Linked DNA regions of Homo sapiens: regions 1, 3, 4, 5, 6 and 7 are each linked to region 2. Evidence: promoter capture Hi-C in 16 types of primary human blood cells and fetal thymus (Javierre and others, 2016). All regions are on one chromosome and are shown on one strand. The core of a region is centred on a gene start or on the middle of the fragment in contact, and the rest is flanking DNA. Distances in the headings are between cores, read along the strand shown. Region 1 overlaps ICE2 (interactor of little elongation complex ELL subunit 2). Region 2 holds the start of GTF2A2 (general transcription factor IIA subunit 2). Region 3 holds the start of ANXA2 (annexin A2). Region 4 overlaps SLTM (SAFB like transcription modulator). Region 5 overlaps ANXA2 (annexin A2). Region 6 overlaps RORA-AS1 (RORA antisense RNA 1). Region 7 overlaps SLTM (SAFB like transcription modulator).

The links. The method cuts DNA at HindIII sites, captures the fragments that hold promoters and counts their contacts. A CHiCAGO score of 5 or more calls a contact.
Region 1: a contact is called between a fragment that was not itself captured here and the fragment with the promoter of GTF2A2 in region 2, in 1 of 17 cell types (M2 macrophages). The highest score is 6.3, in M2 macrophages.
Region 3: a contact is called between the fragment with the promoter of ANXA2 here and the fragment with the promoter of GTF2A2 in region 2, in 1 of 17 cell types (monocytes). The highest score is 9.1, in monocytes.
Region 4: a contact is called between a fragment that was not itself captured here and the fragment with the promoter of GTF2A2 in region 2, in 5 of 17 cell types (monocytes, total B cells, M0 macrophages and 2 more). The highest score is 8.9, in monocytes.
Region 5: a contact is called between a fragment that was not itself captured here and the fragment with the promoter of GTF2A2 in region 2, in 1 of 17 cell types (M2 macrophages). The highest score is 5.8, in M2 macrophages.
Region 6: a fragment that was not itself captured here is called in contact with the fragment with the promoter of GTF2A2 in region 2 in 5 of 17 cell types (non-activated CD4 T cells, naive B cells, megakaryocytes and 2 more); the score reaches 6.9 in non-activated CD4 T cells.
Region 7: a contact is called between a fragment that was not itself captured here and the fragment with the promoter of GTF2A2 in region 2, in 8 of 17 cell types (erythroblasts, neutrophils, total B cells and 5 more). The highest score is 9.4, in erythroblasts.

The regions. Positions count from the first base shown.
Region 1 is chr15:60,438,542-60,442,044 of GRCh38, reverse strand. The region is part of intron 12 of ICE2 (interactor of little elongation complex ELL subunit 2); the gene reads left to right. Among named protein-coding and RNA genes, the nearest start is that of ICE2, 39 kb to the left of the region's middle. The HindIII fragment of the contact is 568 bases long and covers 1,818-2,385 here.
Region 2 is chr15:59,655,410-59,659,337 of GRCh38, reverse strand. It overlaps GTF2A2 (general transcription factor IIA subunit 2), which reads left to right and starts at 1,823. Exons shown (of 5, transcript NM_004492.3): 1 at 1,823-1,932. BNIP2 (BCL2 interacting protein 2) reads left to right here. Exons shown (of 10, transcript NM_004330.4): 10 at 1-192. RefSeq lists an enhancer at 1,787-2,016. The HindIII fragment of the contact is 4,994 bases long and covers 1-2,818 here.
Region 3 is chr15:60,396,264-60,399,997 of GRCh38, reverse strand. It overlaps ANXA2 (annexin A2), which reads left to right and starts at 2,012. Exons shown (of 13, transcript NM_004039.3): 1 at 2,012-2,055. RefSeq lists silencers at 1,280-1,589, 1,710-2,249, 2,320-2,459 and enhancers at 2,620-2,809, 2,830-2,879, 2,940-2,989, 2,483-3,074, 3,075-3,666. The HindIII fragment of the contact is 5,260 bases long and covers 334-3,734 here.
Region 4 is chr15:58,892,453-58,896,005 of GRCh38, reverse strand. SLTM (SAFB like transcription modulator) reads left to right here. Exons shown (of 21, transcript NM_024755.4): 10 at 1,424-1,573; 11 at 1,813-1,916; 12 at 2,019-2,185; 13 at 2,642-2,727; 14 at 2,946-3,109. Among named protein-coding and RNA genes, the nearest start is that of SLTM, 39 kb to the left of the region's middle. The HindIII fragment of the contact is 702 bases long and covers 1,581-2,282 here.
Region 5 is chr15:60,375,207-60,379,068 of GRCh38, reverse strand. The region is part of intron 3 of ANXA2 (annexin A2); the gene reads left to right. Among named protein-coding and RNA genes, the nearest start is that of ANXA2, 21 kb to the left of the region's middle. The HindIII fragment of the contact is 1,268 bases long and covers 1,916-3,183 here.
Region 6 is chr15:60,479,641-60,483,463 of GRCh38, reverse strand. All of the region lies in intron 1 of RORA-AS1 (RORA antisense RNA 1), which reads right to left. Among named protein-coding and RNA genes, the nearest start is that of RORA-AS1, 2.4 kb to the right of the region's middle. The HindIII fragment of the contact is 1,439 bases long and covers 992-2,430 here.
Region 7 is chr15:58,929,330-58,933,270 of GRCh38, reverse strand. SLTM (SAFB like transcription modulator) reads left to right here. Exons shown (of 21, transcript NM_024755.4): 2 at 828-915. Among named protein-coding and RNA genes, the nearest start is that of SLTM, 2.4 kb to the left of the region's middle. RefSeq lists a silencer at 1-235. The HindIII fragment of the contact is 498 bases long and covers 1,628-2,125 here.

The DNA.
Region 1 (3,503 bases), core at 852-3,351, 780 kb before region 2:
GGTATTACAGGGATGACCTACCATGCTGACCTATTTTAGAAACACTTATTTAATAGTATAATCAAAAATACACATTTGTTTTCTAGCTTCTTAGAGTACTGTTTAATTGGTTAACTATTTATTGACCTATATATTTATTTTGAAATTTTCTTATAATGACACTACTTTTAAAACCTCAAATATTTTGATGAAATGACTTTTTCCTTTGTTTTTGTTGTTCTGCTGGGGTATGGGGATTAGGCTGAAGTTCAATTTGCATTGGCTCATTTCATGTACAGTTAACATCCTCACATAATAGATTACTTGCTAGTCATTATTGGTAGTATTTCCTCCCACTGGAATGTCCAATATCGAACATCTCAATGCATCCCATAAATCTCAATCCTTTCTAATCATCTCAGACTGCTCCTCTGTGTAGTCTTTTGCTTTCTTTGATCTCTTAGTGCAGTCTTTTACTTCTCTGACTTGTTACTTTGTACTTTATTCTCTCTTAACACCTATCCCTTCTTCCTGTTAGACAATAAACAGCTTAAGGTCAGAGTCTGATAAAATTCTGTGTTGAGTCTAATAAAATTTTGTGTTATACTGCATAGCTTGATTGCTTGTATGTAATAAATCCTATGAGGGTGTGTTTCTTAATCAAAGAAAGGTTATTCACTTAAAATGTTTTTTCCTGTTTTGGTTAATCAGTATTTTGTTTTCATGTTTTATGAGAGTATTAAGTAGATAATTGATTCTTTCTGCTTAACTCAAAAAAGGAAGTAGCTAAATGCACTAATTGGTGATGTACTGCCTGCCTCCTCCTCCTTCATACACATACTCGAAGTTTTTGTAGTAATTTTCATTCTGTAACCAAAATTTCAATGTTCCTCCAAAGACCTCACACCAACAATCTCAACATTAGCTACTTGAATGCAATTTGCCAGCCACATCCATTTTAGAAAAGGCCCAGTTAAAAACTTACGAGTGAAATTTTGTTTAAAGTACTGACAGAGAATGGAGATTCATGACAAAAAAAAAAATTAAGGTTTCAGTTTTTAAATGTACAGTTCAACATCAACTGTATGGATTACTTCATTTTAATTATTTTGTAAAATCCTAAGTAATCCTAACTGCTGATTATTCTCTGTGAATCCTATCCTCTTGTGAGCCTTTCATTTCATTGTACTGGGATAGTATTTTTGGCTTCTGTGACAAGTGTTTGGTGAAAAGCATATATTGTATGGTTGTGGGATTTTGGTTTGTTCGGGGTTTTTTGGTGGGGTGTAGGTATGGGGGGATAACATCTGAGTTTTTGAGTTTTTAAAAATGTTATAATACTCTTTTAATTTAAGGAAGATGTTCAAGAAAATCACTTGAAGTGCTTTTAAAAGTGGAGATTGCTGGCCCCACCCTGGAGTGTCTGATTCACTAGGTCTGTATTGGGACCTAAGACTTTCTCAGGTCGTACTGATGCTGCTAGTTTAGGGACCACACTTTGAGAATCAATTCTATAGCTTATAGTCTCTTTTTTCAGTAGAATCAACACACTTGTGATTTGTTTGTTTGCTCTGCTTTGCTATAAACATGTTCCCCACTTTCCCTAGTTGCAGTACTCTTTTTATCTTTTCCCCATAAAAACTTGAAGATTTACTCCTTTAAGACAGTTTCCCACATAGTCTCATTGCAACTTCCGTATTCACCCTCCAACCCTATAATATTTATCAATTCTATATAGTTGATATATAGGCAGTCCTCACTTAGCACACAGTTTCAATAAGCACAAGTTTTAGTTATGACCGTGTATTAACAGTGAGTAATTGTATAAAGTATAAGCTTCACTGCTGGCTCTTCAGTCCACAGATCACTACATAAGTAACAGGCAAATCATGATCAGTGACCAGTCATGTCACTTCTTTCAAAGTCTGTTTATAATTGTTTATTGTGTACCCATTGAGTTCATGCACAGAAAGCAGAGTGTGCAGTTGTGTTGACTCTTTGTCTCCCGGTGATAAACCCATGTGATATTTTACCAAAGTAGATAATCAAAAGAATTGACCAAAAAATATTAAAGCAAAGCAAAGAAACAAAAGGTGATACTGCCAGAAGTGAAATTTGAATGGAACATAAATGGAATTACAGAGGAAATAGCAAAGAGTGGGAATGTTGGCACTGCTGTTGTTCCAGTGACTCTAGATTTGCTGCCAGACAAACTTAGTGAAAGCATTGTGACATAAAGGATGAACAAGTGACACTGGCATAAGATTTTACAGTAAACAAATCCTGAAGATAATTTCATGACATTGAAGGCACCAAGGATACAGTGTCAGAAGCTGATCCTTAGGAATATAACGGTTCACCATGGCATAGAAAAGATGTATCCGGCCAGGTACGGTGCCTCAAGCTTCTAATCCCAGCACTTTGGGAGGCCGAGGTGGGTGGATCATTTGAGGTCAGGAGTTCAAGACCAGCCTGGCCAACATGGTGAAACCCTGTCTCTACTTAAAATGTAAAAAATTAGCTGGGCAGTAGTCGCATGCGCCTGTAGTCCCAGCTACTCAGGAGACTGAGGCAGGAGAATCGCAAGAGCCTGGGAGGCGGAGGTTGCAGTGAGCCAAGATCGCAGCACTGCACTCCAACCTGGCCGACAGAGTGAGACCCTGTCTCAAAAAAAAGAAAAAAAAGAAAAAGAAAAGATGCATCCTTCCTATGACAAATTGTGCAAGAAGGTAACAAGCACTGTTCAAACTGCTCTTCATTAACGTTTCATGAAGAAAACACTTTAATTTTTTGGATTACAGTGTACTAAAATATTTTACTGTTCTTTTCGTTTTCCTATACATTTATGATTGATAGAGAATTTATAGTGTTTTGATAAAAATTTTAAAGGTAACCAAACAGTTGTAATTTTCCCTATTGATTGTTACAATTGTAGGGTTTCAGCCTGTATAGGCATTTTTATGGTCCTCACACTGCATGCAAAGCAAGGAGTACCTACCTATACACATATGAATGCATGTATGCATGTATATGTTTATGTGCATATATATATGAATGAACGCTTGTATATAAAAGCTTTATTTTTATTATGTATAGATTTTATTTGTCCTCTATAAATCAGTGCTTTCCAACCTTGATGCACATAAATATTTGTACAGCACACTGTGATATATAAGAGAGATTGCTTGTGGCTGAAGGGCAATAGCCAGGAAGCTTTTGCCATCCCAAGCATTGCTGAGCTGCCTGAAGGGCTGAGGTGATGAGTATCTTAAGCACATATATATCTTATTTGAGGCCCACAGGTTAGAAAGCTCCAATGTTGAGAGAGTTGTGAACTCCTTGAGTAGGTAGATCCTCAGAGCACTTAGTATGGTATTCTCTGTATAGTTATTTTTGACAGACCATATTTGACATATACTATAAAACTTTTTTAAATGAATTTCTTTCAAAAGGTAAGAACTATTAGTCTTCTCAAAGACATAATTAGTAAACATCTAAAAGTTATTATGCTTAGTATTTCCTTT
Region 2 (3,928 bases), core at 574-3,073:
GAAATTCAGTTCTGATGTCTGTGTGTGCAAGATATTAATGTGGTCCCTGTAAGAAATACCAGAGTTGGTCATGATTTACTAAGGAGATGTAATATTTTCTTTGACCTGTTAGGAATATAACTTGTGTCTTGATTTGTTGCACATCATATTTTTTGCAACATTAATGAATTTAAATAAATTAATTGGAACGTTCGTCTTTGTCTTTTTATCACATTTTTCTTTCATTATGCTACTAAATTTTTGCTTTGAATTATCCTATAAACCTCTTAAATAATTTCAGACCTTTACACTTGTTTCCCTTTCTATAGTCTAAGTGCTTCTATTCTTTGGGGATTAGAGAGTTCAGCCTGCTTTATTTTAACATCAAAACAATAATGAAACTTTGTGTTTCATAGTTGAGATTTTTTTTTAATTAATGGGGAATCCAAGGATGAAACCATGAGTGGCTTAAAATGAAAACATGGCTTTTTTTTTTTTTTTTTTTTTTTGAGACAGTTTCGCTCTTGTTGCCCAGGCTGGAGTGCAATGGCGCCATCTTGGCTCACCGCAACCTCCGCCTCCCAGGTTCAAGCAATTCTCCTGCCTCCGCCTCCCGAGTAGCTGGGATTACAGGCATGCACCAACACGCCCAGCGAAATTTTTTTTGTATTTTAGTAGAGACGGGGTTTCTCCACGTTGAGGCTGGTCTCGAATTCCTGACCTCAGGTGATTCGCTCACCTCGGCCTCCCAAAGTGCTGGGATTACAGGCATGAGCCACCGCCCCTGGCCGAAAACATGGCTTAAATAAGAAGAACTTGTTTAGTTCATAGACCTGCTCAGAGGTTCCAGCTGATACCACTTGGTGTTTTTTGTGGTTTTGTTGTTGTTGTTTTGCACATACTCTTTAATCACTATTCAGCTATTTTGTAGGATAAACTGCTCTACACATGACTGCTGGGTTTAAGCCAGTTAGTGTACCATGCACCCTGACACCTAAAACAATTTGTGATTTTGCAAACTTGAAATTTATAGTGAAGTATTTATCTTGCATATTAGATGCAAATTTTAAATATAACTTCTCCCAAATTAAAGTTCTTCATGAACTGGTCACAAACTAAAAACTTTGCCTGCAGCCCTGTTTCGAGGGGTAAAGAAGATACCCTGCTTACCCTGCTATAATTTTTTTTTTTTTTTTTTTTTTTGAGACGGAGTTTCGCTCTTGTTTCCCAGGCTGGAGTGCAATGGCGCGATCTCAGCTGACTGCAACCTCCGCCTCCCAGGTACAAGCCATTCTCCTGTCTCAGCCTCCCAAGTAGCTCGAATTACAGGCATGCGCCACCACGCCTGCCTAATTTTTTGTATTTAGTAGAGACAGGATTTCACCATATTATGCTGGTCGCGAACTCCTGACCTCCGGTGATCGACCCGCCTCAGCCTCCCAAAGTGCTGGGATTAAGGCGTGCGCCACCGCGCCCGGCCCCTGCTATAATCTTTTCAGAATTCGTCTGCAAGGTCTTCAACACTGTTACCCTGAACACACTTCCGGCATGAAATATGAATGCCCTACATTTCTTAAATTGTGCATCTAACAATGGAGAAGATTAGTCTCTAAAAATTATAATTCCCTTAGGAACGATTTAGTAAACCTGGTGAATTACTCGAGCAGAGCGCCTGTCCACCACTTTAAGGCTTCAAGCTCCAGCCCGACGCCCCTCCTTCCCTCTCCACGCCCTTCCCTGACAAGGCTTGAGTGGCGGGCGAGAGCAGGGCTGGGCGGGGCCTCCCGTCCCTCGGGCGGGGTGTCACTTCCAGGTTCCGCGAGCACTTCCGGGTCGTCAGCTCAGTTCTGCGGTTTCTGCGGCGGCTGGAGAGGTGGTCGGAGAAGTAGGAACCTCCTGCCGGGCTCGTGGCGGCTTCTGTCCGCTCCGCGGAGGGAAGCGCCTTCCCCACAGGTAGTGGGTTAGGGAGGGCAGGGTTAGGGAGGGAAGCAGGGCCGCGCTCCCTGCCGCCCCCCCGGAGTCGGAGTGCGTTGGTGGGGTAGTCTCTGAGGGCCCTTCGCTCCTGGGATCTGCCCGTTACCGACCGTTGCCGGCAAGGCCCCGCGGCCGGCACCGGAGAAGGGCGGCGAGGCGGCGGTGATGGTCGCGTCCCGTGGCGGGAGGCTCGTCGTTCACGGGGCGCCCACAGAACCCACCTAGGGGAGGTCTTCAGCCCACCACCGTATTTTCAGCCAGGTGAATGTCTTAAAGCATCCACTAGCGCCCTGTGAGTTTTGCCGAATTTCGGAGAGCATTTTTTAAATGTCTCATTCCTGTGCTTTGTAGCTTGTTGTTTGAAGTCTGCCTTCCAACTTTCTTCGTGCGAACTCCGACAAAAGGAACGAATTTTAAACTTGGTGGTTTAATCAAAAAATGCTAGGACGAGTTACTTCCGAATTTGACTTCTAATTTTCTGAACTGCAAAACAAGAAGGGAACAATAAATTTCTGTGGCTGATACCACATCTAAAAGATTAGAACACTTAACAAGGAATTTTTAAAGAATGTAAGAACATTGAAATCAGCACTTTTAACAAACGTTTAACGCAGGGCTATTTTCTAGATAAACTCAAAAATTTGTCAAATGGGACACGATGCACGATTCTGTATTCCTACTCTGTGGAGTTTTTATCTACCTATTGGGACTTCTTGCCCTTTTTAACCCCCTCTCCCCTCCCACACGCATATTATACTTACTGATATTTGCCTTCGTTTACTGAACAGATTTTTTTTTGGCTCCTATTGTGTGCCAGGTACTGTTCTAGACGCCTATTTTACTTAAGTGAACAAAATAAAAAGCTTTGCCCTCATGGAGCTTACATTCTATTAGAGGATGCAGAAAATAAAATATATAATGGTGTTAGAAAGTGATGGTGCCATCAAAAAAAAAAAGAGAAATATAAAGGAGTACGGGAAAGTTCCAGAGTGGAGGTGGGAACTGGTATTTTAAAGATGACGGTGGTCAGTTTGAGCCTCATTTAGTAGGTGTTATTTGAGCAAAGACTTGAAGGAATTAAGAAAATTTGCTAAGTAAATATCAGGAAGAGCATTCAGGCAGATAGGAAAGCCAATACAAATGCTTTTAGGCCTGTCATGTTTGAGGAATAGCAAGGAAGCCAGTGTATCTGGAGAGGGATGAGCAAGAGTTTTGGGGGTGGAGGGACAAGAAGATAAAGTCAAAGAGATCATGGTAGCCGGATCATTGTAAAGGCTGATAGAAGCCATGGGAGATTTTGAATAGAGGAGAGGTATGTTGTAACTGAAGTTTTAGAAGATCACCCTGGCTGTGAGTTGTGATTAGAGTGTAGGGGTGAGTGTAGAAGCAGGGAAATCATTTAGGAGATTTTTGCAGTAATCCAGATGACGAGAGTGGCCCAGGTCAGGGTGATAACCGTAGGGATGGTGAGAAGTGGTTGGATTCTGAATGCATTTTGAAGGTAGGCCTTACAGTATTTGCTAGGAATTGGATATGGAGAGTGAGATAGAGGGAGTGGAGGATGAAATCAAAGGTTTTGCCCAAGCTCGTAGAAGTATGGAGTTCTTTAAGCCACGATGCAAAAGATAACAAATAGAGATGTTGAGTAGGCAGCTAGATTCAGGAGTGAGAAGTTCTATGCTATATGAATTTGGGGATCATCAGCAGTGGTACTTAAACCATGAGAATAAATGTTATCCGTAAGGAATGGGTGTAGACGGAAAGCAGCAGAGGCCTAAGGACTGTGTCCTGTGATATTAAGAGTTTAGCGAAAACGGGATCAACCAGCAAACAGTATTAAGAAGGATGAACTTGTGAGTTAGGACAATCCGAAAAGGGCAGTGTCCCAGAAGCCAAGGTAAGATCCTGTACGAAAGAGGAGGGAGTAATCAGCTGTGTCCAATATTCTGAGTGAGGCTAGAGAATTAGCTTTAGC
Region 3 (3,734 bases), core at 763-3,262, 740 kb before region 2:
CCACATGATTTGAATTAAATTTTATCTTCTGTAAAGGGCCTATCACAGCACGATTAGGAGTAAGAGACTGTGGAACCTATCTTGAGATACACAGAAGGGAGGCTGAATCGTGCCCAATATTACTGTCTGCCTGTGTTCCCCTAACCTTCCAAAATGTTCACACAAAGTAAGCAGATAAACATTGTTTCTGACTTTGAAGCTTTCAGGCTAAATTGAAGAGCTATAAATGTAAATCAGCAATTGTACCCAAAGTGTTGCTTGATTTTCTATTTGGCTCTGTGGTAGGGCCCATCGCGTATAATTCCTCGTGAAAGCGCTGGGTAACAGAAAGCTTTGGGCGGGTTAAAAGACCTCAGCTGTGGCCGACTTTGCCTGTGTCACTCTATGCGAGTGGGCAGAGCACTGAATGTCTGTTGGCCTTGCTATCATTCTCTGATTCCCAGGAGTGAATTGACGCTCAAATGGAAAGTAAAAATGGATGTTAAGATAAATGGGAGATTGAAACACAGAATCATCAAAACCAGGAAAAAGAGCTGCAGGAAGTAGTGTGCAAGGAGGGGTTTAAAAAACGCAGCCAGAGATCCTCGGGATTCTCAGCGTCGCTTTCCTGTTAGTTTGAGGTTCGAATACAGTATTTGCGTCGTCTCACATACAACAAATAGGTGTCTGCCTGCACGTTGCCAACGTGACTCTTGGAAGAAAAGCGAGAAGCAGCAAAACCGAGCAAGGGAGTTGGCTAAACGGCTGCAAGAAACACACACACACACACACACACACACACACACACGGAAGAAAAGCGAGAAACAGCAAAACCGAGCAAGAGAGTTGGCTAAACGGCTGCAAGAAACACACACACACACACACACACACGGAAGAAAAGTGAGAAACAGCAAAACCGAGCAAGGGAGTTGGCTAACTGGCTGCAAGAAACTCTCTATCTCACTCTCTCTCTCTCTCTCTGTGCTGCAAGAAACTCTCTCTCTCTCTCTCTCTCTCTCTCTCTCGGAAGAAAAGCGAGTAACAGCAACACCGAGCAAGGGAGTTGGCTAAACGGCTGCAAGAAACACACACACACACACACACACACCACACACGCACACACACACCCCAGCAGTCATGAAAGAAGGAGAGGAAAGTTCTTTGTTGAAACTCCGGGTTCGAAACACACACACACACACACACACACACACACACACACACACACACACACACACGAAACTCCGGGTTCAAAGCTATGGGCCCCACCCCGCTCAGGACTGCCTGCTACGAGGCCGCGCAGAGATGCCCCAGGCGCGGAGAGAAGCGGAGCACAGCCGTGCTAGGGACAGGGGCGCCACCCTGGGCGGGACTGAGGTGGGATCCTGGCTCCCGGCTTTGGCCTCCCAGCCCAGGCTCGGGGCTTCCTGGCCCTCGGAGGCCGGGGCGGGCCAGGCTTTGCAGCACAGGGCGAATCTCCCTCCCTCCCCGGGCGCCCCCCGGGAACTGGCGGCCAGAGGTTAAGCTGACATGTTTGCAGACGGTAATGGGGCGCTGGATGCCAACAGCCCCAGCTCAGGGGAGTCCAGATTTATGTTTCTTGGAACAATTCTTTCCTCCATTGCATTAACGCCAAAAAAAAAAAAAAAAAAAAAAAAACACTTAATCAAGCCCAGAGTCTACTACTAAAGTCTTGTTAATTTATTAACCCAAGCCGAGGCTGAGAGCTCGACGTGGCACTTAAGAAGTAAAATGAGGAAAGGAGGAAGAAACGGGGTCCCTGTGGGCCTCGGGGCAGCCTCGGCCGGGCTTTCTCGGAGGGCAGGGCCAGGGGCGCTGGGGCCGCTCCCGCGTGGCGCGGCTCGGGAGCGTTCCAGGGCGCGGTCCCTGCGGGCCGGCGGGCCGGGGTGAGTCACCCCTGACTTGGGGTGGGAGCGGGCCGTGTAAGGGGGAGGCGGGGCGGGGCGGGGCGGGCCTCGCCTCGCCTAGGGAGGATGTGGCGGGTATAAAAGCCCCACCCAGGCCAGCCGGCTCTGCTCAGCATTTGGGGACGCTCTCAGCTCTCGGCGCACGGCCCAGGTAAGCGGGGCGCGCCCTGCCCGCCCGCGATGGGCCGCCAGCTAGCGGGGTGTGGAGACGCTGGGAAGAAGGGTACGGCCTGGCAGGGAGGCCCCGGCAACTGGCCCCGGAGGCCGTCGGGGGCAGGGGGCTGAAGGGACGGCCGGCACTGGAGAGTCTTTGGGGAGGGGGCTCAGGGACAAGGTGTTTGGGGCAGGGGTGAGGGGCCACCGGCCCTCGGGCCGGGAGGGTGCAGGGCAGAGGTGGTGGGGGGTCGGGCTTCTCTAAGAAGCCCTAGCGGGAGCGGGGCGAGGCGGCGTGGGGAGAGGGGCGGAGGGAGGCCCCGCATTCCAGACGCGCCAGGCGCCGCCGAGGCAGGGCGTGGCCGCCCAGGGAGCCGCAGGTCCCCGGCGCAGCAGTAGCAAGTGGGCTTTCCACTGCCCTCTAGAAAGTGCCCCCCATCTGCTCTAAGTTACTGTACTCGAAACAAACGCGCGCTTGTGGAGTTGAACCGACCAGCAGGAGGGAAGTAGCGGGGGAAGACGAGAGGGGGGAGTGTGAGTAGGCACCCCTCAGCCCCCCATAAAAGAAGACATTAAAACGTCAGTTATTCCCCTTGCTCTAGGTTATCTTGTAGCATAGCAACTTCGGATTTCACTCTACCCGGAGAGTTTCCCGCTTGGTTGAACACATTGGCCTCAGGAAGGTAGTGTCCCCCATGATTCTGTGGGGAGGGTTGTCCTGTTACTCGCCATGATGTGACAATGAGTCAGGAACTGAGAGTAGAGAGAAGGGCGTGGCCCCGGGGCCTCTCCCTTCTGGCCGCTCTGTGCAGCTGGCCCCACTGCTGGTGTGGAGGGCTTGGGTTCCATCAGCCGGCTGTTGAGAAGAAGGAGGGGAACACAGATAAGTTTCCTCATCTGGGAAGGTGGCTTAAGGATGCCTATTCTTACCACCACCCAGAGTTATTGGAGATTTCAAAAAACACAGTCATTAGGTAATAAATGTGTAAAGTACACAAAAAACAAAGTGCTGTGCAAATGCAAAGTGTCATTTTTGTAGTAAGATTGCCGTTTTAAAGCTGTGGGTGTTCTGAGTGCGTGTGTAAAAGAGCAGTGGCCTCATGGGTGCACGCTGGGCCATTACCAAGAACCTTAAGTTGTTGGTGTGCAAAGGCCTGGGCCCCAGACTGTACTGATGGATTCTGTTCACACGTGTGTGCTACTGTGCCTGTCTGGAACTTGGTGACTTGGAATGCAGAATGCACTTTCCCACTGAAACAGTGTTGCAGAAGGTGCTGACGTTCCCAGGCTAGCCCTGAAAGACCTTTTTAACATGCACTGCCTGATTATGGGATTGGTGGTGGGGAGGTGGAGGGTAGTGAGGGGCAATGTGTGTGTAGGAAGACTAAATCACTGAAATATTTTTCTGGAACTTTTTTTAGCTTTAAGGTTGACACTGAGTAAATTATTTTAATTGGAAAATTATGTCTTTGCCCCTGTTCCACTTTCTTTTTTCCACCTTCCACCTCCTTAGAGACGCTCTTCTGGCTCTTCCGTGACGCATTACAACAGCCATCCAGGCCGGTCCAGTTACGCTGCATTCCTTCCTCCTTCCCATTTCGGCGGACCTGCATCCAGCTAGAGACTAGCAGATTGAATCGATATTCATTAAGTTAGGAATGGTTGGTGGTCCTAAGA
Region 4 (3,553 bases), core at 682-3,181, 760 kb after region 2:
AAGCTTTTTGAGGTCAGGGACCTTATTTAGTGTACTTCATGTGCACATGATAGGCTTTCAGATATTGAAATTACTGAATTAGTGACCATTATTGGTAAATAGCCATTAATATTACCAAAACCTGTCCTCTTGATTTTTGGAGGGTTTTTTTCCTGCTTCAATTAGTGAGTTGCCTGAGTGTAAAGGAGGTTCTTGTAGGTGTCAGAAATAGAACACTGAGAATTGTAGTCCCATGATAGGCTGTGTTATATTTTTTCTTCTGTTTTCAATAATGTATTGTTAGAGATGTGAAAACAATATTTTAATGTTGGTATTTATTAGTAGTAAAACTATATGAGGATACCATTTATTTGGTAAGAAGACCCGTGGAGTTAAAAAATAAATGGCTATGGAGCAAATCAGCCTTTCCTAGGGTTGAGGTAAAAGTTGATTTGTTCCAGCCACCCATACCATAAAACTCCTGATTTTCCTGTTTACTTCTTCCCAGCTTTATGTCTTTACTCTTCTTTGTTCAGCACCGAATCGTTCTCTCTCTTTTCTTCTCACTCATCCATCCCTGCTTTGTCTCTCTTAACTAACCATCTTACACAATTGCAATTATTTGTCATGTTCATATACGTTTTAAAAGCACATAGATTGAAAGTGTTGTCTTTCAAGCTTTAGGGTGTTTTTCGGGGGATGCATTTTTAAGTCCGCTTTTTTATATGTGATTGGTTCTTTACTCATTATAGAAAAGTGTTAACACTCATCAATAAAATACTAGAAACTTTCTCTAAAGACATTCAGGGTGGGCCTATGATAGGGATATTTTGGTTCAAATCCAATTTATTTGCTTTTATTAATTGTGCCATTACTTCATTGATGAGATTGTGTTTTGGCTACATATTTGAGGGGAGGAAATAAATATAAAAAGGTTAAATTGCTTTTTGGCACTTTAAATTGTTCCCCTGAATATTTACTAAGATGGGTAACGTAGATGGTGATCACAAGAATATGAAATAGGCTGGCTGCAGTGGCTCATGCTTGTAATCCCAGCACTGTGGGAGGCCGAGGTAGGCCGATCACCTGAGGTCAGGCCTTTGAGACCAGCCTGGCCAACATGGCAAAACCCTATCTGTACTAAAAATACAAAACTTAGCAGGGCATGGTGGTGCATGCCTGTAATCCCAGCTACTTGAGAGGCTGAAGGAGGGGAATTGCTTGAACCCAGAAGGCAGAGGTTGCAGTGAGCTGAGATCACACCACTGCACTCCAGCCTGCGTGACAGAGTGTGACTCCATCTCAAAAAAAAAAAAAAAAACATGAGACAGAATAAGATACACCCTGAATTAATATATAGTTTCAGTTGTGAAGTTTCATGTATTTAGAAGTCTGTGTACTTGGAACGTTGTAAAACTCTCTAAAGTACAGTCTGATTTTATAGGTTCTGAGTGCAAAAGTAGTTACAAATGCTCGAAGTCCTGGGGCAAAATGCTATGGCATTGTAACTATGTCTTCAAGCACAGAGGTGTCCAGGTGTATTGCACATCTTCATCGCACTGAGCTGCATGGACAGCTGATTTCTGTTGAAAAAGTAAGCTTCCCTAACTGTTTATCAAAGCAAGTCTAATTTGATGGCTAGTTCTCAACTCATAGCTGTTAACAGTAGCAGGGAGTAGAATTTGCAGTGATTTTTAATTTTTATGTATTTGTAGTTTTTACTCTCCTTATATTTTTCCTATCGTTTCCAAATTTTCTGCCATTAGCACACTTCTTATAATCACAAAAATGTAACCATATGTACAAATTGTTTTTCTGGTTCGAACCTTTCAGGTAAAAGGTGATCCCTCTAAGAAAGAAATGAAGAAAGAAAATGATGAAAAGAGTAGTTCAAGAAGTTCTGGAGATAAAAAAAATACGAGTGATAGAAGTAGCAAGTAAGGATTTATTTTTATTTATTTATTTTGATAAGCAGATAGACTTTTTTGGTACATTATGAAGTACTCATTCTGTTTTTTTGTCTGGGGCGGTATGGTCAGGACACAAGCCTCTGTCAAAAAAGAAGAGAAAAGATCGTCTGAGAAATCTGAAAAAAAAGAAAGCAAGGATACTAAGAAAATAGAAGGTAAAGATGAGAAGAATGATAATGGAGCAAGTGGCCAAACATCAGAATCGATTAAAAAAAGTGAAGAAAAGAAGCGAATAAGTATGCTATACATCTTTTCAATCCCTTTCTAATGCATTCTACTACTTAATTTTTACAGTGGAAGGGAAAACCTGAAATTCTAATCCAGATATAAGCTTTGTTGTTAGGTGTCATTGTGGTAGGAAAGGAGGTCTAGTAGGAGTAATTGTCTTCTTTTCTACTCTGGGGAAACAAACAAATGTATTCTTCCAGCTAAGCTCCTTTGCTATTCTGGGCTGACTTAAAATGGTCATTGATTAGTACTATTGAATTAGGATCTTTTGGTATCACTGAAAGTATTTATGTTAGCAGACTGAACTGTTTAAAAAACTCTTTGCATTGAAGTTCTTGTAGAATAAGTAGTTTTTTTATTTCATGTATTGGTGTGTGACTATCAGAATTTAGCATTTTTACATACATATTTTCTTTCTCAATGAAAAATTTTAGACATTGTTTTATATAATTTTTTTCCCTTAGGTTCCAAGAGTCCAGGACATATGGTAATACTAGACCAAACTAAAGGAGATCATTGTAGACCATCAAGAAGAGGAAGATATGAGAAAGTAAGTCTCTGATCAGGATGGTTGTATACTACTTCAGCTGTTTACAAAAGAAGATAATTCTGTTTTTCCATAACCATCTTTGCGTACTTGCATGCTAGCAAACCCAAGAAAAAGGAAATGTTACTAGTCATTTGAACTTTTTAAATGACCTACTAAACTTGAAAAATAAAGCCCCAAAATATTTTAATTTCTAGTGTTCTTCTAATTTTTTTCTACAGATTCATGGAAGAAGTAAGGAAAAGGAGAGAGCTAGTCTAGATAAAAAAAGAGATAAAGACTACAGAAGGAAAGAGATCTTGCCTTTTGAAAAGATGAAGGAACAAAGGTTGAGAGAACATTTAGTTCGTTTTGAAAGGCTGCGACGAGCAATGGAACTTCGAAGGTAGGAAGAGAGTCTGTTTTATACCTGTCTTTAAATATAGGTAAATATTTAACACTAGTTGTAAGCCATATTTCTGGAAATTGTATTCCCACAGAAAACTGTTTGCCACCTTAAAGAAGTTACGGTAGCATCTAATGATTTCTTAAGTTTGCATAGCACTTTACAATTTACAAAGTGCTTTTCCATCTGTTGTCTCCAACTCAACAGTTCTGTAAGGCTAGTTATGCCCATTATACAATTGAAAAAAATGGAGGCCCAGAGAGGCTAAATGACTCTTCCAATGGCCACATGGCTAACAAGTGGCAGAGTCGGGACTCAGACCCAAGTCTTCTGACTCCAAGTCCAATGCTCTTTCCTCAACACCAAAGCTGCTGCCATAAAAAACATGACTTCAAAGGAAAAATTTGAGATAAGATAGTTTCAAAGTAGCTACAGTGTTCAAAT
Region 5 (3,862 bases), core at 1,300-3,799, 720 kb before region 2:
GACCTCGTGATCCACCCGCTTTGGCCTCCCAAAGTGCTGGGATTATAGCCGTGAGCCACCGCGCCTGGCCTATTTATTTATTTACTTATTTATATATATATTGTAAGACAGAGTCTTGCTGTGTCACCAGGCTGGAGTGCAGTGGCACAATCTCGGCTCACTGCAACCTCTGCTTCCTGGGTTCAAGCTATTCTCATGCCTCAGCCTCCCAAGTAGTTGGGACTATAGGCGTGTGCCACCATGCCTGGCTAATTTTTGTATTTTTAGTAGAGACGGGGTTTTGCCATCTTGGCCAGGCTGCTCTCGAACTCCTGGCCTCAAGTGATCCGCTGACCTCAGCCTCCCAAAGTGCTGGGATTACAGGTATGAGACACCGCACCCAGCCTACTTATTTTTGATGCTTAGTGATTTTAGAGAGTAAGTAGGTTTTGCAAGTCCATTGGTCCTTTAAAATAATTTCTAGATTGTTGGCATTATTAAAACCCTAAATCCTTTTAGGAACTATTGCGAAGAAAGAATATGATATTCGTAAGAGCTCAGTGCTAATATTAGCATTGGTTATGGTAGTGAAAGACCAGATAAATCTTTTAGTTGGGAAGTATGTCTTGAGGTATACTTCCTTATAATCATTAAGTAAATAAGTAAAACTATATTACATAGATAATGTGTAACTCTCTGTATTACATAGAATGTCTGCAGAATGTAGATAGGAAAAATAAAGTTTGTCAATAATTTTCAACATCTTTATTGAGATACAGTTAATCTGCCATACGATTTGCCTATATAAAGTGTACATTTCAGTGTGTTTAGTAGTGTATTTGCAGAGTTGTGCAGTCATCACCACAGTAACTTCCCTAACACTCATTTTAACATCCATTCACCTTAAATGTGTCAGTTGCATCAAGAAATAGAAATGGGATGGTATATGCTATGTGATCACAACCACAACCATTTTTTTTTTCTTTTTGAGGCGGAGTCTCACTCTGTTGCCCAGGCTGGGGTGCAGTGGCATGATCTTGACTCACTGCAACCTCTGCCTCCTGGCAGAACCCTCCTGGGTTCAAGCAATTCTCCTGTTTCAGCCTCTTGAGTAGCTGGGACCACAGGCATGCACCACCACACCTGGCTAATTTTTGTATTTTTAGTAGAGACAGGGTTTAACCATGTTGGCCAGGCTCGTCTCGCACTCCTGACCTCATGTGATCCACCTGTCTTGGCCTCCGAAAGTGCTGGGATTACAGGTGTGAAATCATAGGCCTGGCCTATGATTTCTTTTAATCAAAAAAGAAAAAATAAAAGGCATTAGCAATGGAAACAGACGTACGTCACTTCATGGTCCTTCCTTTACTGCACTGTGTAGATATTATGGTTTTTACAAATTGAAGATTTGTGGCAATGCTATTCACTTTGTCTCTGTGCCAGCATTTTTTAGAAATAAAAGTATTTTTTAAATTTAGTTATGTGTTTTTTAGACATAATGCTATTACACACTTAATATAATATAATCACACTTTTATATGCATTGGGAAACCAAATTGTGTGACTTGCATTATTGCTATATTTGCTTTATTGTGATGGTCTGGAACCGAACCAGTAGTATCTCCGAGGTATGCCTGTATATGGAATTGTGGGCAATTGCTCCTTTTCCTTTCTTGGGCTTTCAGTATATTCTGTATTTCTGTATTTTGCAAATTTTCTATGATGACTTGTATTACTTTCATAGTGGAAGGCAGTAAACTTAATTAAAAACAAAAATGAAGTCATTAGTTGGAAAGGATAACAACCCTTTTGTTCCTTCCTCCTTCTCCTTGATATTATTAGATACTGGATAACTAAAACCACTTAAAAATGAGCTAATTAAGATCTTACCTTCTTTTTTTAGAATGCCTTTTGCCTTAAGTGTAATTAAGAAGCTTACACCACACCTTGGCCCCACTCCCACCTCTAACCCTTCATCGGGAAGAGACAATACTAAGTAGTTGGTGTTTCCTTGACATCAAAGGACACGGTATAAACCTCAAGTATTGATAGAAACAAAAGCCAGAGGACCATGTGACGATGACTGGCCCTCTTTCTCTCCTAGACGGGGGTAGCCGTGTGTACACACGTGTGTGTGAGTGTGCCGGGACGCTACCCACTCCATGTAATGTTCCATTGATTTCCCTGTGGTCTGTGTGCTCTCAGGAAGAAGAGCTGGGAGCAGGCCACCTTGGAGGAGGCTTAATCAGCTGCTGTCGAGTACACGGATGGTGCACAGGAGCAGGCCTGGAGTGGGATGATGGCGAGGAGGGTAGAGCTGGTCAGAGACCTGTTTGGGGGCACTGCTTGCCATGGCCAGGGCATGGCTGCAGGAGTCACGAAGGCTGTTCTCACAGACGAACTGTCAGTCACACCTGCTCTTCTTGGTGTGAGCTAAAGCTCCTCACTTGCAGCCCTCTGTTAGAGGAGAGAGGCTACTTTTCCCAGCCAGTCTGCCTCCTGGCACCCTCGAGAGAATATATTCCTAATTGCTGTGCTCAACTGAATGAATATACCTCCAGGTGTGCAGACAAAACCAAAAATACCTGTCCTGGCTCACTTTCCAGTGCTTGGGAGGCAGCTCTTATTCACCCCTTCCCCTAACTCTTGTCACCCCTCTCCTGTGAGCTGTTATGGCATCTGTCGTCGTCGTCTTCTTTTTTTTTTTTTGAGACAGAGTTTTGCTCTTGTTGCCCAGGCTGGAGTGCAATGCACAATGTCGGCTCACTGCAACCTCGCCTCCCGGGTTCAAGCGATTCTCCTACCTCAGCCTCCCGAGTAGCTGGGATTACAGGCATGTGCCACCATGCCCGGCTAATTTTTTTTTGCATTTTTAGTAGAGATGGTGTTTCTCCATGTTGGTCAGGCTGGTCTTGAGCTCCTGACCTCAGGTGATCCGCCTGCCTCAGCCTCCCAAAGTGCTGGGATTACGGGTGTGAGCCACTGCGCCTGGCCTATGGCATCTGTCTTCTAAGGGACCTCCCTGCTTCAGCCTTTACAGAGTATCTTTCTAGCCTCGTCTCTGGCTCTGTTCACGGCCCTCTACAGAGCATGCCTCTGCCTTTGTTCTTTGAGGAGCGTGTAGCCTCCTTCCTCCCCACCTCAAACATCTGCGCAGTTCCCATTTACCTCTCAGCCTGGGCCAGTGCACAGCATCAACAAGCTTTCTCTGAGAAGGCAGAACCAGCTATTTCTTGGTCTGTGTTCTCATCATACTCTACATACTCGTTTATTGTGCTTATGAGAAGGGGGGAGAAGCACAATACTGCTAAAATCAAAATAAGTCTGCTTTGTTTCTAGTTTGAAGGGATCTCAGTATTTTTTGCCTGTGCTGCCTAAACCAAATGCAGGATTGTTTTATGTATGCTCCGTCCTGAGGTAGACTATGCAACGACTTACCTTAATTTATGTCTGGTTAGAAACTGAGTACAGTCATGCAAAAGTAGTAATACTGCTTAATTAACAAGAGGTTGCTGAGACTTAATCTGTAGGAGTCTCTTGGTTTAGATTGGCCTTGGGTTAAATATATACGATGGCGTGTACAACACAGCTGTGAATGGTTTACCATATGGGTCCAAATAACTAGAAAGGAGAGTCAGCTAAATTAGAAAAGGATGAATCGAGACTCCAGAAAATAGACTGTAATTAGCAGCAGCACAACCCCAGAGTTAGTGTAAGTGCCAATAAACTGGTACAGCTTTGGTCTCTCTCTGGAAGGGGAGGGTAATGAATTACCCTATTATTATTGCCAGTTTTGATTTTAGCAGTATTTGTGTTCTCCGGAAGGGATGCAAAAGTGGGTGATTTTTCTCCCCCCTTTCTCAGAAGCGCAAGTATAGAAGCA
Region 6 (3,823 bases), core at 462-2,961, 820 kb before region 2:
ACACACAGATTCCCCATAATGCAGAGAATAAAGTCCAAAATCTCTAGCATGGCAATGAAGACCATCTCTAGTCCGCTTCACCATTTCCAGTCCAACAACCTTCATTTCCCCAACACAGCGATGCAACAGCTTTTCCTCTTCCCCAGAATATGTGGAGCTGTTCACACTTCTGTGATTTTTTTTCCCACAGTTAAAACCCACAACCCCTTTTCTACCCAGTGAACTCCTACACATCCTTCAAGACCCAAAATAAATTAAACTCCTCTGAAGTAATCTCTAAATTATCTCCATCAGAATGAATTTCTTACTCATTTGTGGTCCCATGGAATCTTCTATATATATATGTATACCATTTCCTTTTTTTTTTTTTTTTGAGACTGATTTCACTCTTGTTGCCCAGGCTGGAGTGCAATGGCGCAATCTCGGCTCAGTGCAACCAATGCCTCCCGGGTTCAAGCGATTCTCCTGCCTCAGCCTCCCAAGTAGCTGGGATTACAGGCATGCACCACCACGTCAGACTAATTTTGTATTTTTAGTAGACACGGGGTTTCTCCATGTTGGTCAGGCTGGTCTCGAACTCCCAACCTCAGGTGATCCACCCACCTCAGCCTCCCAAAGTGCTGGGATTACAGGCGTGAGGCACCGCGGCCGGCCCACCATTTCTTCTTTGCATTATAGGTCTTTGTACAGTGCCATCTCCACTGTGTTTTGTTCATCTTTGATTTTTCTTTCAGAAAAATTATATACTAATAGCTAGTATTTGTTGAACATTTACTCTTTGCAATGCACTTTATATATATATTACTTCTAGTCCTCACAACAATTCTGTAGGTGAGGTATCACTGCCTCCATTATCCAGATGAAGAAACTGAGACTCAAGAGGACACACGACATGCCTAGGATCACAGTGCCAGTAGACAGAAAAACTGAGATGCCAACCTGAGACAGATAACTACTGGAATCCAGAAGTCCATGTTCTTGCCACTAAGCTTCTTGTGGTTCACAAAACAGAAAAGAAAGGATGCATATATTTATTGTATTTTATGTTACTCCGCTGGGGCTGCTATGACAATTCCATAGCCTGGGAGGCTTAAACAAGAGACATTTATTTTCTTACAGTTCTGGAGGCTTGGAAGTCCAGATCCAGCTGCCAGCCAATTTGGTTCCTGGTGAGAACTCTGTTTCTAGCTTGCAGATGGCTACCTTTTTGCTGTGTCTTCACTTGGGGGAGAGAATGAGCTGTGGTTTCTCTTCTTCTGACAAGGGCATGAACTCCATCATTGGGGCTGCACCCTTGTGTCTTAATCTAAACCTACTTACCTCCTAAAGATACCACCTCCAAATACCATTAGGATTCCTTGTAGTAAACAAAAATTATAGGAGGCCATTAGGCTCCTATAATATGACATATGAATTACATATTCATATAAGATATGAATTTTGGGAAGATGCACAATGCACACGTTGGCAAGAATTATGAGACCTGAGTTTTAGTATCAGTTTTATCATTGATCATGTGATGTTGGAAAAGTCACTTGACAATCTTGAAACGAGCCCATTTCCTTGTAAGGAAAACAAGAGGGTTGGACTAGATAATCTCCAAATCGTGTTCTGATTCTAAAAATTCTGATTCTGTGTGCTATCTTGCAACCATTGAAACTCAGATATACCAGTTCAGAGCATACTGTTTGGTGATGATCTGAAATCTCAACACAGAGCTGTATGGTAATGCTACCATATCACACTACCATGGGCAGGTACCTCCCAGCAGCATGAGCTCTTAAACAATTAGAGCAGTTCCTTCAGGCCAGGTCAGGTGTCCCCAACTCTTCCTGACTGCATGCTTTGTGAGACAGTACCCAACACATGAACTTTTACGCTGCCTTTGTCCTACACAAGCCATCCACATCACTTACCTAATAAGAAATACTATCTGCAGCCAGGCATGGTGGCTCACGCCTGTAATCCCAGCATTTTGGGAGGCCGAGGTGGGCGGATCACGAGATCAGGAGTTCAAGACCAGCCTAACCAACATGGTGAAACCCTGTCTCTACTAAAAATACAAAAATTAGCCGGGCGTGGTGGTATGCACCTGTTATCCCAGCTACTCAGGAGGCTGAGGCAGGAGAATCGCTTGAACCCGAGAGGCAGAGGTTGCAGTGAGCCAAGATCGCCCCACTATACTCCAGCCTGGGCGACAGAGGGAGACTCCATCTCAAAAAAAAAAAAAAAAAGAAAAGAAAAGAAAAAAGAAAAAGAAAAAAAGAAATGCTATCTGCACAGTGCCAGGCATTGTAGTGGTTGATTTTTTTAAGCATTCACAAACACTGTCTCCTAACTGGCCTCCTCCCTTCAATGAATTCCGTAGGTTGCCAGGTGAACTTTCCTGAAGCACAGCCAGCCAGTTCTGATTGTGTCATTATGTAAGCTTTTTTGTTTGTTTGTTTCCTAGCATTTTATTTCTTATGCAATAAAGTCAAACTTCCTTAGTCTGGCTTATAAAATCTTACGTGTTCTAGCTTCAACCAGTTTTTCCAACCCCTTTTCCTCTACTACTCTTCAGAGACCTTGCATTCCAGGCAAAATAAACTACCTATGGTTTCCTGTAGCATATTTTTTACATTAACATAATTTCTAACAATATTCTAAATCAGTCTAAAATGTCAGCCAGGGGTAGTGGCTCACACCTGTAATCCCAGCACTTAGGGAGGCCAAGGTGGGCAGATCACTTGAGGTCAAGAGTTAAAGATCACCCTGGCAAACCCCATCTCTACTAAAAAAAAAATACAAAAATTAGCCAAGTGTGGTGGCATGCACTTGTAGTCCCAGCTACTAGGGAGACTGACGCAGGAGAATCGCTTGAACCCAGGTGGCAGAAGTTGCAGTGAGCTGAGATCACACCACTGCACTCCAGTCTGGGAGACTCTGTCTTAAAATAAAATGTAGAACATGCTTCCCTAATAGCACACACTAGATTCTGTTTATGCAATAAGTTTATGCAGTTCCTTGTATTAAAAAAAATTATAGGAGGCCATTGTTTAGAACTTCTGCACTAGACCCCAAGAGACCAGACTAAAATAAAAATGGTATCACTCAGGCTCACCACACCGAAACTGAGTTATGTGGCCCTCCAAGAAATCAGGAGACAGAGGTAACAGGCCAGTTTCAATTTTCAATCAGCAAGATAATGAATTTCCTCTGTTTTAGTCCCTACAGCAAAGAGTAACTTGAAGTAACCTGATGTTAACCAATCAGTTATCTTTCTATTGTACTGTCTGTCTCCACCTTACCAGGAAAGTAACTTTGAAATGATCAATCTGCTTTTTGTTCTTTGTTTCTACTTTCTACAGACCTTTTTTCTGTCCGTAATGCCAACCTCCTCTGTTCCACTCATTGGGACACTCATTCCATTTTATGGAATGAAGTGTTGCCTGATTCCAGAATCGCAATAAGGCCAACTGAGATCTTTAGATGTGTCAAATTTTTGTCTTTTGACACTTGTGCTGGTCTGTCTAGAACGCCCTTTCTCTTCATTCCACATACCCACATTCTTCAAATGAGCTCACACGGCAGGTGCTCAGTGCAGCAACTGACATGTAAGTACTCAATACTATTCAAAACTGCGTTTTGTCCCTCACACTAGCTATTCCTCTCCCTCTAACCTCAATCTATACACCTTTCTTATGTAGTTTATTACTTTCTATTGTATTTAATGTAAATGTCTTAGATTGCCAGAGATCCAAAGCACTGGAAAAATCAGTATTCAGTCTTAGTCCATGTGTACCCAGCACCAAGCACAAAGTACTCTGTTTACGGTCAATAA
Region 7 (3,941 bases), core at 627-3,126, 730 kb after region 2:
GCGGCTCCCGCGAGCGTGGAGGACGGGGACCCTTCCGCGGTGCCCCCGCCCCGCGCCCCGGGCCGGGCCGGGCCTGCGAGGGACCGGCCACCGCAGCCCAGCGTGCCTCCGCCTCCCCGGGACGTCCCCGCCAGGCTGCGAGGGTTGCGGCCGGCCGGCGCGGCCTCCCAAGGGCGATCGCGGAGACCTGGGAGGCGCTGGCTCCCCAGCCTTTAGCCATGGTGAGCGTGTGCATTTCTTGGCCTCAGAGGGAATGGTTACTTTGGTGACTTCTGCGAAGTTACCGTTTAATTGTGCCCAACCGTTTCTTCCCCATCTTGAGGGGGAATTGGTAGTGGGAGTTGATGGGTGGGTGACAGAGTTTTTGTTTTCCACTAGGCTTTTAGTTTTTGCATCAGCGCAATAATTACTTTTTCTTTCCTGATTAGCTTTCTGGTTTGAGTGAGCGTTGGAATTGTAGCAGAGGAGCAGTAAGTTTGCATTACAGAAACTAGGAAAACTCTTTTTAGTTATTTACTTTAGTAGCTAGCAACTTTTCTGCAATAGAACATATTTGGATTTTTGGCCAGTATGATGTGATATTTAATTATCTTGACACGGTAGAATTTAAAACTCCTTGCGATTTTGATACCTAATGATTTTTTTCCCCTGAAAGTTTCTCTCACTCTTTCGTGTAGTTTAATTGCTCATTTTTGAAGTCGGTTGATGAAATGACTGGCAATTCTAATGTCTTGAGGCTTGAGGTTTGCTAAATTTTTTTTCATTTCGTTTTTATAAAATAAGTTTAGATAGATTGTGTAGCATATTAACTTCTCTTTCTAATGTAGGCTATTGAAGAGGAAGGAGGCGATCCAGATAATATTGAATTAACTGTTTCAACTGATACTCCAAACAAGAAACCAACTAAAGGCAAAGGTTGTTACGAGTTATGAACATGTTTTAAAATATATTTTGGTTATATAACTTGCCTCTGCTCTTGTGCCTCTTGCCCTGTTTATATAGTGCTACTCTTTGCTATTTCCCTCTGGCAGTCTGCCTTCTTGGGTCAAGGAAGAAAAGTTACTGTTGCCAGGCTTTGGGTGACTTGTAGCCCTTAAGATTCGGCTGAAGCTGATTAGAAAGTGAGAACAGTTCTTTATTGCTTCCGGAAAAAATTACAAAGTCAAGTTGTGTAATGATGCTTCATAGTGTGAAGACCTGAATAAAATACAGTTTAACACATGTCTACCTTGCCCCACAATTGGCAGAGTTTTGATGGAATTCCTACCAAATCTTTTACCTTGCCTCCTTGCTGTTTTCTTTAGTATATTAAAATTCTATAACCTTTATGTTTAGTACTTTGTTTGACTTGGTGAACTTAATTTGCATTTATGCCATTATACCTCCTAATTTTTAGTGAAATTCAAAAAGACCTCACCAATCATACTAACAAGGTAGAGGGAAAAATCCATGATTAATTAGCTTAAAAAAGTTTTAAATTATAGGGATGTTAAAGATTCTTATTTTTAACTTTTAAGCTAGAGCAAAATATATTTATTTCTAGGATATAATGATTTAGTGACTAGCTAAAAGTGGTTTTAAATGAACGTTTTGCAGTATGAATGGAACTTAGGTATTTTTTAAAGCTTCTTGGTAAATGAAACCTTTATTTGAATAACTGCAAATTTCTCCCTCCTATAAGGACAGTGGCAGAGGGTGGACATGATATATCTGGATTCTGGTCTTTACCTACAATTTTCATGCAGAGTTTGTCATGAACAGCTGCTGCATTTTTTGTAATCTAATTTTCTTTACTGCTTTAAGTGATCCAAGTGTTACTCCCAACCACTGAATGATTGCAACTAAAATAAAATGAATGGATTAATATTGAAAAGGGAATATTAAATTTTGATCTTAAGCACACCTGGGTATCAGAGATGAGGACAACTCACTATTTTAAGTCTTCCTAGGTTAGGAGAGTCCCCTGTTTGTGCCAAAGGAAATTGAAAAGGGCTAATAAGCATTCCCTGGGAGAGGTGGGGATGTAGTTTAGAGAAGTAAAAAAGTTATCTTAAAGGTAGCTTTTAAGATAACTCTGACTCAGTGTATCACTTTGAGAGATACATTTTCTGTATTTAAAGAAGCTTGTCATGAGAAGACTGCCAACAAACCAGAGGCTATTTCAAAATGGAAAACGATAGAAATTCAGAAATAAGTATATCAGGAATTAACCATGTGTCTTGCAGTAGTTTTGATTCATATCTTTTACCTAGCATGCTGTGCTAGTTTGACAGGTACTGTGTATTAATCATAGTCCCAGGTTGTTTGAGTTGACTATTATTTTAGCATTGAAAATAAACATGATTTATTCCTTTCTCACCTACTTTTAATTTCTCTGTATATCCCTTTTTCAGTTTTGACTAGGAACATCATTTATCTCTTATTATTAGAAATAATTTCAGCAATATAAAATTTTAAGGGTTTTTTCAATACATTTTATGACAGGTATATATATCTATATATATGATATATAGATTATATATAGGTGTATATATATCATATATGATATATATATATATTTTTTAATAGGGTATTGCTCTGTTGCCCAGGCTAGAGTGCAGTGGTGCCTAGCTCTTTGCAGCCTCAAACTCCTGGGCTTAAGTGATCCCTCCCACCTTAGCCTCCCTGGTAGCTGGGACTACAGGCATGTGCCACCACAACATTTTAAATAAGTAAACATTATTTATTTTTATCAGTATGTTTGCTAATTTTTTTCTTTGTATGGGTTATACTTGAACTTTATTCCATAACTCTGATGTTAAGAGGTCTTAAGGTATTCAGTTAGAAGTTGTAACATTTGGGGGCCGGGTGCAGTGGCTCACGCCTGTAATCCCAGCAGTTTGAGAGGCTGAGGCGGGTGGATCACCTGCGGTCGGGAATTCGAGAGCAGCCTGGCCAACATGGCCAAACCCCATCTCTACTAAAAATACAAAAAAAAAAAAAAAAAAAATAGCTGGGCATGGTGGCGCGCGTGCCTGTAGTCCCAGCTACTCGGGAGGCTGGGGAGGCTGAGACAGGAGAATCGCTTGAACCCAGGAGGTGGAGGTTGCAGTGAGCTAAGGTCACTCCACTGCAGTCCAGCATGAGACCCCATCTCAAAAAAAAAAGAAGTTGTAACATTCAATCATTTGTTTGTAGCAGGCCTCATTCTAAGAGATGCATGACAAAAAGCTCTAGTCTTCTTGAAATCCGGCTATCATTGTTATGAAAATCTTGTGAATTACAAAGAATATAATGTAAATCTCCAACTCCAAACAGTTTGAATTAATTTACAATAAAGATGCTTATTGATTCAATTATTTTATTTTTATTATTTTTAATATGAGAGATTTTGAACCCAGTTTACTTATTAAAGAATGCTCTTGTCTCAAATTCCAAGCGCTACTGATCATCTTTAGAGCCAGTTTTGCTTAAATGCGTCATACCAACTCAGTTCTAGCCTTCTAAAATGGCAGAGTTCTAAAATGGCAGAGATGTTTTCTCTGCCATTTTACAAAGTGATAAGATTATTTTAGGCCGGGTGCAGTGGCTCATGCCTATAATCCCAAAAGGCCAAGGTGGGAGGATCGCTTGAGTCCAGTAGTTCAAGACCAGCCTGAGCAACATAGTGAGACCCTATCTCTATTTTAAAAAAGAATTAAGATGTTTAAATAATAACTTTTAGAAACCAAATTTGTATAGGGAAACTTATTAAAATATCAATAATGAACAGATTTGAAAACCAAGGATATATTAAATATTGTTTTAATGTGATGTCCGTTTTTCTTTTCTTTTCTTTTTTTTGAGATGGAGTTTCGCTCTTGTCACCCAGGCTAGAGTGCAATGGTGTGATCTCGGCTCACTGCAACCTCCGCCTCCCGGTTTCAAGCGATTCTCCTGCCTCAGCCTCCCGAGTAGCTGAG